2 separate regions of the Homo sapiens genome follow, and region 1 is linked to region 2. The links are contacts of gene promoters, found by promoter capture Hi-C in human tissues and cell types (Jung and others, 2019). All regions are on one chromosome and are shown on one strand. Each heading gives the region's core, a stretch centred on a gene start or on the middle of the fragment in contact. The rest is flanking DNA. Distances are from core to core; before and after follow the strand shown.

Region 1 (5,392 bases), core at 2,652-5,151, 420 kb before region 2:
TTCAAATAAAGAGGGAGAAAGAAGGAACATCAATTGAGCTCCTACCACATGCATGGCACTGAATTATGGTGTTTTTTTCTTTTTTCTTTTTTTTTTTGAGACAGAGTCTCACTTTGTTGCCTGGGCTGGAGTGCAGTGGCATGATCTCGGCTCACTGCAACCTCTGCCTCCCGGGTTCAAACGATTCTCCTGCCTCAGCCTCCCAAGTAGCTGGGATTACAGGCACCCGCCACTATGCCCAGCTAATTTTTTTGTATTTTTAGTAGAGACGGGGTTTCATCATGTTGGCCAGGCTGGTCTCGAACTCCTGACCTCAGGATTCGCCCGCCTCGGCCTCCCAAAATGCTGGGATTACAGGCATGAGCCACCGCGCCCAGCCATGGCACTGAATTAAATGGTCAGCTTTTTGTTTATTGTTTGTTTTTGAGACAAGGTTGGTCTTGTTCTGTTGCTCAGACTACAGTACAGTAGAACAGTCATAGCTCACTGTAACTTCGAACTTCTTTCTAAGTTCAAGTGATCCTCCTGCCTCAGTCCTCAGAATAGCTGGGACTACAGGCATGCCACCACCACGCCCGGCTAATTTTTTGTAAAGTTGGTGTTTTGCCATGTTGCCCAGGCTGATCTCGAACTCCTGGCCTCAAATGATCTTCCTGCCTCGGTCTCCCAAAGCTTTAGGATTACAGGCATGAGCCACTGTGCCTGGTCAGCATTTTTAAAATTTAACTTGGATTGGCCGGACACGGTGGCTCCCAGCACTTTGGGAGGCTGAGGTGGGCGGATCACTTGAGGTCAGGAGTTCAAGACCAGCCTAGCCAACACAGTAAAACCCCGTCTCTACTAAAAATGCAAAAATTAGCTGGGCATGGTGGTGGGCACCTGTAGTCCCAGCTACTTGGGAAGCTGAGGCAGGAGAATTGCTTGAACCTGGGAGGCGGAGGTTGCAGTGACCCAGGATCATACCATCGCATTCCAGCCTAGGCGACAAGAGGAAACTCTGTCTCAAAAAAAAAAAAAAAAAAAAAAATTAACTTGGATTTTATCTTGCCGGTAGTAGGGAACCATAGAGATTTTTAAGCCGACTGTGACATGATTGAATTTTTTTTTTTTTTTTTTTTTGAGCCAGGGTCTTGCTCTATCGCCTAGGCTGGAGTGCAGTGGAGGGATCTGGGCTCACTGCAACCTCCACCTCCTGGGTTCAAGCAATTCTCCTGCCTTAGCCTCCTGAGTAGTTGGGACTACAGGCACGTGCCACCATGGCTAGCTAATTTTTACTTTTGTTTTGAGATGGAGTTTCGCTCTTGTTGTCCAGGCTAGAATGCAATGGCGCGATCTCGGCTCACTGCAACCTTCACCTCCCGGGTTCAAGAGATTCTCTTCCCTCAGCCTCCCGAGTAGCAGGGATTACAGGTGCAAGCCACCATGACTGGCTGATTTTTGTATTTTTAGTAGAGACAGGGTTTCATCATATTAGTCAGGCTGGTCTCGAACTCCTGACCTCAGGTGATCTGCCCGCCTCAGCCTCCTAAAGTGCTGGGATTACAGGCGTGAGCCACAGTGCCCAGCCTAATTTTTGTATTTTTAGTAGAGACGGGGTTTCACTGTGTTGGCCAGGCTGGTCTTGAACTGACCTTGTGATCCACCCGCCTTGGCCTGAATGTTTATTTATTTAATTTTTAGGATGATGTCCCTGGCAGCCAGTGGAAGAATAGGATAGAATAAGGAGAGAATAATCAGGTGGTTAAGGCAGTGGCCCAAGGGACAGAAATTGCAGCATTTAGCCAAGAGGAATTTGGCGGGGTTGTGGAGAAAGGCCAGTGTCTGGGCTGAAGAGAATTTTTGCAGGTCAAACCCATAGTCGCAGAGGTAGATTTTATGTGTTACTGGTGGGGAGGCCAATGAGGGAAACAGAGGCCAGCTCTTGAGAAGTCAGAAGCAGGGCAGGGTTTGAATGAATGGAACAAAGCTATGGGACGTAAAGCCCCCAAACCTGACTCTGAACCTGGTATATTTCTGAGTTTCTCTGTGATCTTGAAAATGTCATATTATGTTGTCTTTAGTTTTCTATCAGCGGATAATATGGCCTCTCCTATCTGCTATTCATGATTGTGAGAAAGAAACCAGGCAGGGAGTGTATAAGGTGTGTAAGTCCTTTGTAAGCAGTAAATCACTAAACAAATCCTAGACCCTATGTTATCAGGGAGGCAGTTGGCCGCACGGGATAGCGTAGTTACAAGAGACTATAGGCGGAGATGGGGGATATCTGTCCTGTGGTGTAGATAAACAGCCTAATCAATACACACACACTCTACAGGTAAATACAGCAATTTCCATACTGAGCTGTGTCTACCAGAGGGCAATAGGAGGTTCTCAATTCTCACCACCAGTGACCCTATGAATTGCCCTGTAGATGCCTCTGTCCCTCATTGGATATGAGGTGGTACGAGCGGTCTGAATCTGTAGACTTAGACAGGCTTCAGGTATCTGGGGAACCATGTGAGTAAAACCTTGTATTGTTTCTGGGGCTAGAATCTAGTCTCCTTCAAACACTCAGAAGGATCTGTGACTGCCTTCAAAGGTTAAGAGTCATTGATTTTTCTCACTAGAAATTAATAAGAACAGCTATCCTTGGGGAGAAGGAATGATGGGGGTAGGGAAAGATTTTCATTTAATATTTTTGACCTTTCTGAACGGTCTGCATTTTCTAAACAGGAACATGTATTAGGTTCATTGAAAAAAAATATGTCAGGGGTTAGCTGAGCAGTGAGATAATGGGTCCTTTTTAGATTTTTGTCTTTATACCTGTTCGTATTAAACAAACACAAATATTAATAACATATTTTTAAAGACCCAAAAAAATAAAAATTAAAAACCCTGATAGTATCAGCACATACACAGAAATCACTCCATTATGCAAAGTTCATCCTCTATTATGAAAGGCAAAATGTCTACATTTCCTATCAACCACTGGCTTCAATTCAGTAAAACTTGCATACCAAGTAGGCAAGGTGGAAAAGAAAAAGGCAGAACATTTCATGTATTTCAATTCAGACGCATAAAAATGTCAAGCCCTACACGTTATCAGCTTTCGTATACACCGTCTTCTGCATTCGCCTGTACGGGCCAATGGGCTAGCTGGTCGGCGTTTGATGCTTGAAGTGATGGAACGGAGTACGGGGTTAAATCCACTACCCTCTCCCCACGCACTCTAGTAATTACTCTATTTCCACGTCATGTTTCCGGGTGTGTGTGTCCCTGCTCACGCAGAAACTGAAGTTCAAAGCAGGCGGAGTCACCCATGTTCTTTTTGTTGTCCCCAGAACCCAATTCAGGAGTTGGGTCCCCAGAGGATCTGGAGATACCTGGGGACTATCTAACTAGCTGATTCCCGCGTGGTAAGAGGCTCTCAACCTCGCCACCACGTGGTGCCAAGGGCCGGGAAAAGGGAGAGCGGGCAGGAGGGAGCTGTATCAGGGGCATTTAAAGTGCCTTGACGTCACGCACTGCCAGGAACTCAGCTGAGTTTTCAGCAGGACATTCCGGTCATCTTCCCTCCCTCCCCCCGGGCTTCTGTGCCCAAGTCCTCGGCTCTTCCCTCGCTGTGGCGGAGGGAGGAGCACCGAACTGTCGGAACAGCCAGCACAGGGGCGTATCAGTCTCCTCTTGGCTCCGCCCTTTCTCCTAGCTGCTCTCCTCATTGGTCAGTGGGCGGGGCTTCGGCTGTACCGCACACGCACTGGGACCTCTGGGTGGCCGAACGAGCTGGCCTTTCATGAATTATGCATGACGGCGTGCCTCGGCCAGGCTGGGGCTGGGCGAGGATTGGCTGAAGGGGCTGTAATTCAGCGGTTTCCGGAGCTGCGGCGGCGCAGACTGGGAGGGGGAGCCGGGGGTTCCGACGTCGCAGCCGAGGGAACAAGCCCCAACCGGATCCTGGACAGGCACCCCGGCTTGGCGCTGTCTCTCCCCCTCGGCTCGGAGAGGCCCTTCGGCCTGAGGGAGCCTCGCCGCCCGTCCCCGGCACACGCGCAGCCCCGGCCTCTCGGCCTCTGCCGGAGAAACAGGTGAAGGGGGTGCAGGGTGGGGCCGTTGGGGAGGCCTGGGGACCCGGGGGCTCCGCAGCGGCAGGGGGCCTCTGGGACCTTGGGGATGTTGTGATGGACGCTGCAGTGGGGCCGGGAGAGATGAAGAGACGCGGAGGGTCGCCCTGAGGGAAGACTCTTCGGGATGACAGGAGCGGGCCTCGGAAGGGACTCGGGGCGCTGGAGGGAAGTTTCGTTCTTCGGAGAAACAGAACGCGCTCGAGGGGGCACCGTGGGGCGAGGGCGCACTCGGTTGCGGCGGCAGGAGTGAGGGACAGTCCCCCGATTTCCTGCTCCCTGGGGCCCTGGGGACGTTCCGGCCACCGGAGCGACTGTCACGCCGACGGGGATCACCGGCGCGAGTGGGGGGTCGGAAAGCGCCTCCTCCCCGCCCGGTCGGCGGCTCCCGCTGAGCCACTTCCTCCGCTTGCCCTGTTCCCGCTCCTTCAGGAGACAGCTGTGCCCTTTTGGAGGCAGGAATAGGTGTGTCTGTCGCCTGCAGCCTTACGGGCTGGCTGGTCGTGGGTAGGCTTTATTGCATAAGAATCAAGTTTCCTGTAGGGAAATTGACAGACCGGTACTCTTTCTAAATTCCCTCGCATCTTTTTCTAGGTTAAATTATGCTCCCCCCACGTCCCCGCCTTGTAAAAAAGAGAAAAAAAGACAAAATAAAATCCCCATCAACCCGTCAAGCCAGCTCTAGAGAGAGAAATAAACCTCTTGACATTGTCCTTTTCCAAATACCTGGTAAAGTCGGCCAGAAGATAAATAATTGAGCCATTGCATTTACTGGATTGTGGTGTTGCTTAATTGCATAGGACGGAATGAACCAATTGAGAGTGGGAGTTTTCTGTCTCAGAGCCAAGATCTTGGGTAAATGCAGAGGAGAGGGAAACAAAGACAGGCTGGCCTTGAAAAAACCATGTGTGCAAACTTTACATGCATTTGGGGGGTGTGGTTGCACTGAAGTTAACAAGATTCAAACCGTCGCCCAAGTTGGTATTTCCATGTTTGGTACACATCACTCTGTGCCATATCAGGTCGTTGTTAAGTGTGGTGACAAAATCAGTGGTTAGTCATTTTTTTAATTAAAAATGTGTATAGTGTGTACCTGCTGGTCTTACTGTATGTGCAACTAAAGGTTTACATAGTCTGTGTATGGGTTGTAAATTTTTGGCTGGCTGTGCTGATAAAGCATTGGGCTTGAATAAAGCAAAGCAGAAAATCATCTCAATCTTTTATATGTGGATTTAGACTGTGTTATGACTTGGTTCAGCCAGTTTTCTATCTTATTTTATATTAAATATGTC
Region 2 (5,857 bases), core at 3,290-5,789:
AGCAAAGGGAACCAATGCCGAAGACCGAGGGCAGGGGAGGGAGGCGGGGGTGGACAGGGAGGCAGCTTGTGAATTTTTGTTTTACTGTTTAACTTTATTAAAAAAGAAAAAAAAAAGAGAATAAAATGTTTTGACCCTTCCTGGCCCTTTGCTCTGGCATCTGCATTGTCTCCAGTCTGTGAGCCAGAGCTGAGCCCGACCTGGACTTGGGGTGCAGCAAGCTGCTGCATGCGGGCTGTGGGCACCCAGCCTAGTGGCAGGTGGGGCACTCTGCCTCTCCCAGACCTGTCCAGCATGTGAGTGCTAGGCAGGCCCCGGCTGTGCCTCTGGGCCCAGCCTAACATCAGTCACAGAGAAGCGAGTTCAGAAAGCATGCTCACTTTACGGTGGGGCCCCAGAAATCACTAGAAGCTGTGTGTGTCCAAAGCTCAGGTGGGTACTAAAAGCTGTGTGCGTCCAAAGCTCAGGTGGGTACTGACCTAGACAGGGCAGTTTACTTACAAAGACTCTCACAGTTCCTGTTGCAGTGTGGGTTCGAGGGAGATGGTAGACAGAGATAAAACCCTGCCTCCTGACCCCCAGACCCATTTGAGGTGGGACAGGTGGCTCCAGAGCTCTGGTCTGGCCACTATTTTTAGCAAAAGCCCCTGGCCTTCTCTGCTCCCTTTCTGCATGCAGGAGACACACTGCTCACGGATGCAGCGGCATGCACCATGCTGTCCTGTCAAGCGTGGTGTTCAAGGTGAGTAGCCTTCCCAGGAGCTCCAGGCACAGACTTGAAGCTCTAGCTGAAGTTCAGAGATGGCCAGGGACAGGCCTTGACCTAGAAAGGTAACTTAGGATTTCTCTTCATCTGAGCTCCTGCCCCTTTCTTTCAAGTCTTCCCCGGCTGGTGCCTTAGCCATGGTGGAATGATGCCTGAGTCAGGTCTTGGAAGTTTCCCATGTGGCTGACTAGGCCTCTGATGGCCTGGAAGGGACTCAAATGTTAGATCTTCCCTGGTGCTTGAAGTTTCAGTGACCTGCAGGTGGCCTTCCCTAGAGAACTGGGAGAAACCCATACCAGGAGCTTCCGGTCTTACTGAACTCTTTCTGATCCAGTGGGCTGGGGACACCTGTGGGCTTGGTGCCCTGGTTAATGGGGGATGAGAGGCTTTTGTGCTCCACATCCCTCGTACCCAGCCAACCCCCACCTTCTGTATGAGTCTGAGGCCAGCCTCTGCTTTCTGCCTCCTCATGAAAGCCAACACTGTTCAGCTGCCCAACCTCACCACAGCTGTGCCCGGCCAGCAGAGGGGAGACAGGACCGATGGCCCCAAGCTGTGGGACAAAGCCAGTCCTAATACACCCAGCCCTAGGGAAGACTGAGCTGGGCACAGAAGGGTAAGAGAGACTGCACACAGCTAGGATTAACATGATTTATTTCATTATCAGTCTTACAGGTTGCTGAGGTTGGGCAAAGCCAGGATAGTAACTTAAATCCAAAGCACTTTTGTTGAGTGACAACCCGATTAGCAAGGCCCTGTTACTGAACAGAGGGCAGTGGAGGGCACCCCAGGAACCACAGCACACAGACTAGTGTTAGAAACCCCTTCCCAGAAGCAACCGGTGGGACTTGGCCCTTACCAGCCAGGGGTCTACTCCATTGGCTCTTGGTGCCCACCAGCCCCTGTTAGAGGAGGCCCAGAGGCCTCCAGAGGCACCATGGAGGCAAGATGGGCTGGGTAGAGAGCAGGACTGGAGCTTCCTCACCAGGGTTCTGCCTCTGGCCCCGATCTCCCCATCCACACAGCGGAGCCAGGCCACTGGAAAGGACAGCCAGTCCAGCCCCTTCCTGGAGTGAGGCCCCCAGCCAGCGGGGATGTGGCGGCTGCTTAACTGTTCTGCTTTCTTCCCTAGTTATCAAACTGTTACCTAGTTATGGTGTGAAGGGGAGGGGGCAGGGACTTAGGACCAAAGGTGGGAGGTAAGCTCCTTTTTCTACCCTGGTAAATAGCCCCAGCCTTCTTGGGGCTACACTGATTAAGAAATGGGATCACTCAGGAGGATTGCTTGAGCCCAGGAGTTCGAGGCTGCAGTGAGCCATGATCGCACCACTGCACTCCAGCTTGGGAAATAGCAGGACCCTGTCTCTAAAAACAAAGAAAAAAGACAAGGAGATGGAATCAAAGCCCAGAGGTCCTCCCCTTCTCAGAGCCACCACTAGTTCTCTGTGACCATGGAAAACTACCCCCAGCCCCACTGCCTTTTGCCTCCGGTCAGTGGGTTTTGCGGGGCTCTGAGGTGTCTCCCCACTCACCCAGCTCTGGGCAGAGCAGCTGGGCTGGGCTGGGGCTGAGCTAACCAGAACCTGGAAGTAGGGCTCGGGGTTCTGGCTGTGGCCCCATCCCTGGCTTGGCCCAGCCTCGTCAGCTTTGGTCCAGGTTCCTGAATGGTGCCTCCCTGCCCACCTTGTGTTGGGAGCGTGAGCATTAGAGGGGAAGAGGGCGGACAGGAAGGGAGGGTCAGTTATTTTACAAGTTTTTAAAAAGTTACAGGTAGGTTAACTTTGAGTAAAAAAAAAAAAAAAAAAAATGTCACAAAACAAGGATCAAACAGAGGGCACGTTTCCCTCTCCCCTTCCCTTCTAGGGGCATAAGTGGTGGTGAGAACACTCATATGATGGTGCAGGACTGCAAGGCGCCCCCCTTCCGGCTACCTTGCGTGGGCACAGGTTTGCCTTTCCCGTAGTACCCCGTGAAGATGGCCCTGACCTCCATGTTCTTGGCCAGGGTCAGCATCCAGCGCCCATTGCCCAAGGAATAGAGCTTGCCCCGGCTTAGCTCGCCCACCTCCTCGCCTCGGCTGCCCCCCTTCTCCTGCCGCAGAATCTCTAAGAGGTCAAGGCCCGTCTGCACGGCCTCTACGTCAGCTGCACAGCCGAGGGTGATGTGGGCGCGGCTCCCCCGCGGCAGGTTGTCAGTGGGTGACAGCTTGTCCACATCACTCGGCCACAACTGCAGTTGCTGCTCGCTTAACTCCACCCGGGCCCCAGTCGTCTTGGGTGTCACAAAGAGGGCAGAGATGGTCAGCGTGAAGGCCTTGGAGTAAGATTTCTTTAACACCTGGGGAGAGTGAGAAAGAGGGGCCCAAGCTAGAGATGGCAGGCTCTTGAGGAACAGCTGACCCAGGGAGGGTCCCTCCTGGAGGAGAGAAGGGGAAGTCTAACAGAAGTGAGCACAGCTGAGCAGGGGTCGGTATAGGCCCAGCATCCACTAACAACTGCGGCACGCACCTTCCATAGGCGCTCCAGGCTCAAGTGAGAAACACGAAGGCGCTCAGACAGGGCCACACGGGGACAGCCGGACTTCCTGAGGGAGCCCAGCTCCCTGCACACTGGCTTCCGGCCTCAGCGGGCTGGCTGACCTCTCGGTGCCTTGGCTTCATCACCCGTAAAACAGGGAGAACCAGAGCCTACCTCAGAGTTAATGTGGTTATGAGAGTGACTAGGTAAACAGCCCACAGGGGTGTCCGCGCACACAACAGCTGCTACTGTTGGCACCGCTCAGCTTCCCCTGGGACCCAGACAGCGCCCTGGAGGACAGGGTGAGGTCAGACTGAGGTCAGACTCGCCCTTGATGGAAACCTGCTCTTACACTTTGGTTCCCATCTGATGATATGTCTGCTTCTATCTGATTCTTTGAGACAGCCCATCCCATCTCAGCATAAACGCTTTTCTATTTTTGCTCACGATCCCTTGTCCCAACAGTGTCTGGCATGAAATGGGTAGTTAATAAATGCTAAATGAAGGCATGGTTAGGGATGGTAGCTCAGGTGTTACATATTCATTCCACTATGCTAGGGTGCTGGAACCACAGGAGTCAACGAAACTTAAAAACTCGCCCTCAGGGGAGCTTCCATTTGGGAGGACACTCTAGTGAACAAACAAACGATTGTGCTAACCTAGGCAGAGAAGTGGGAGAGTGGGCTTGGGGGTGGACACTTGGAAGTTGGAGACTGTGGATATGGGTGACATGCCTGGCATTCAGGGATCACTGTCAGTGGCTGTGGGTGTAAGGTGCCAGCTGTGTGGTGCAGAAAGGTCTCGTACCCATTAGCCAATAAGCTTCATTATCGTATGAAACTCCCTCACTCTGGGGCCAGGCCAGACCTCAGACCTGGGGACAGGGATGGGGACCTCAGTGCACCAGGCTCCCTGGGGGCGAAGGACTCCTAGTCTTTGGAAGGTAAAACAGGCTCAGAGAGACCAGAGCAGGAGCCCACTGTGGACCAGCATTCTCCATGAATCTGCAGAAGGCGAAGGTGCTTGGGGGCAGGTGAATGCACAGGCTGGCAGTACTGCCAGGGCAGGCTCCTTAGAACCTGCGGCTGAGGTCTATGCAGCTACGCCTGGGGACAGGGGAGCTAGGAGGAGGAGATGCCATTTTTCTTGAGCTGCCATCTGGTTTTTGGTCCCTGCCTGGCACCGGTACCTATCTTCAGAAGATGCTGCAGCCCCTTCTCCCCCAACCTCCCACCTCCCCCATGTGTCCCTGGGGAAGACTCACATCTTGTTGAGCGTACTCCTCTGCCCCGGGAGCCTTCCCGTAGTCACAAAACTTGGTTGTGCAATGCAGCACGCCTGGGGGTCTCTTTCCAAAGTAGGTGACCAAGTCCATCTTCTCCCTGGGCTCATCCCCAGGGACGACTGCCGGGAGAAAACGGGTGCAGTCAGGGCAGGGGAGCAGGGGCATACCAACATCCGCCACCAGGACCACCGAGGCCCAGCGCAAAACACTCGGACACTAAGCATCACCTCTCCAGCAACCCACTACAGCTCATTCATTGGTTAGTTGGTCAAACTAATGGCAACTTTAGAGCAATAAAAAGTTAAAATTCTCAGGCCAGGTGCGGTGGTTCACACCTGTAATCCCAGCACTCTGGGAGGCCGAGGTGGGTGGATCACAAGGTCAGGAATTCAAGACCAGCCTGGCCAAGATGGTGAAACCCCGTCTCTACTAAAAATACAAAGAAATTAGCCAGGCGTGGTGGCGGGCGCCTGTAATCCCAGCTACTTGGGAGGCTGAGGTAGAGAATTGCTTGAACCCAGGAGGCAGAGGATACAGCGAGCCGAGATAGTGCCACTGCACTCCAGCCTAGGCAACAGAGCAAGACTCCGTCTCCAAAAAAAAAAAAAAAAAAGTTAAAATTCTCTGGCTTTACATTGTATAGATCTTTCCATCTCTTCTCCAAACTCTAAGGCATTTGTAACAGAGGCAGGCAGTACAGGCCAAGGGAATCTAAGATTTACTAGCACCACGTCTCAAAGGGGAAGCAAGTCATGGGAAGTGGGGTGGAAAGAAAACAGAGGGCTGGGAACAACATGGTACGGTGGAAACAGCCAGAACACAGTGAATATCTCAGCTCTGCCATGTACCAGCCATCGGCCTCGGGCAAGTGACCAACCCTATCTATCAATCCAGCACAACAGTTAGGGTGACCATATACCCCAGTGTTCCCAGGACCACCAGGGAACTATCAGTAGTGCCCCATTTCACTCAGGGGCCCATCTGGACAAGCAGTCACAACGTCACCATCAGTTTAATACACACCTTGCAGGCCTATGGGGGGGCCTCCTGGTACAGGAAGGGTCTTGGACTATAATGGGGTGACATTATGGGGCTGGAAGACACAAAGAGGAGTGGAGTATCTGTGATTTTGATTTCCAGACTCCACACCTGTGGCTGTCTTTGGAGTCACTCGCTTTTTCCTGTTATGTTCTGAATTGAGTCCCCATGAGGATGTCTCGCCCTCCACAGGGGAGGAAGGCCTCTCCTGAGAGCAGCCTTGCTGGCCCATTACATTTCTCCTGCTCTAAT

What was found. The method cuts DNA at HindIII sites, captures the fragments that hold promoters and counts their contacts. A contact is called where the count stands out against the background at its distance.
Region 1: a contact is called between the fragment with the promoter of STAT3 here and a fragment that was not itself captured in region 2, in 1 of the 25 tissues and cell types used here (pancreas).

The regions. Positions count from the first base shown.
Region 1 is chr17:42,386,951-42,392,342 of GRCh38, reverse strand. It overlaps STAT3 (signal transducer and activator of transcription 3), which reads left to right and starts at 3,901. Exons shown (of 24, transcript NM_139276.3): 1 at 3,901-4,064. RefSeq lists an enhancer at 3,181-3,450 and silencers at 3,971-4,250, 4,481-4,560. The HindIII fragment of the contact is 15,490 bases long and covers 1-5,392 here.
Region 2 is chr17:41,970,721-41,976,577 of GRCh38, reverse strand. CNP (2'',3''-cyclic nucleotide 3'' phosphodiesterase) reads right to left here. Exons shown (of 4, transcript NM_033133.5): 3 at 4,547-4,686; 4 at 1-3,103. The coding sequence ends at 2,654. It overlaps DNAJC7 (DnaJ heat shock protein family (Hsp40) member C7), which reads left to right. Exons shown (of 14, transcript NM_003315.4): 14 at 1-143. Among named protein-coding and RNA genes, the nearest start is that of CNP, 6.9 kb to the right of the region's middle. RefSeq lists an enhancer at 3,286-3,405. The HindIII fragment of the contact is 5,813 bases long and covers 1,633-5,857 here.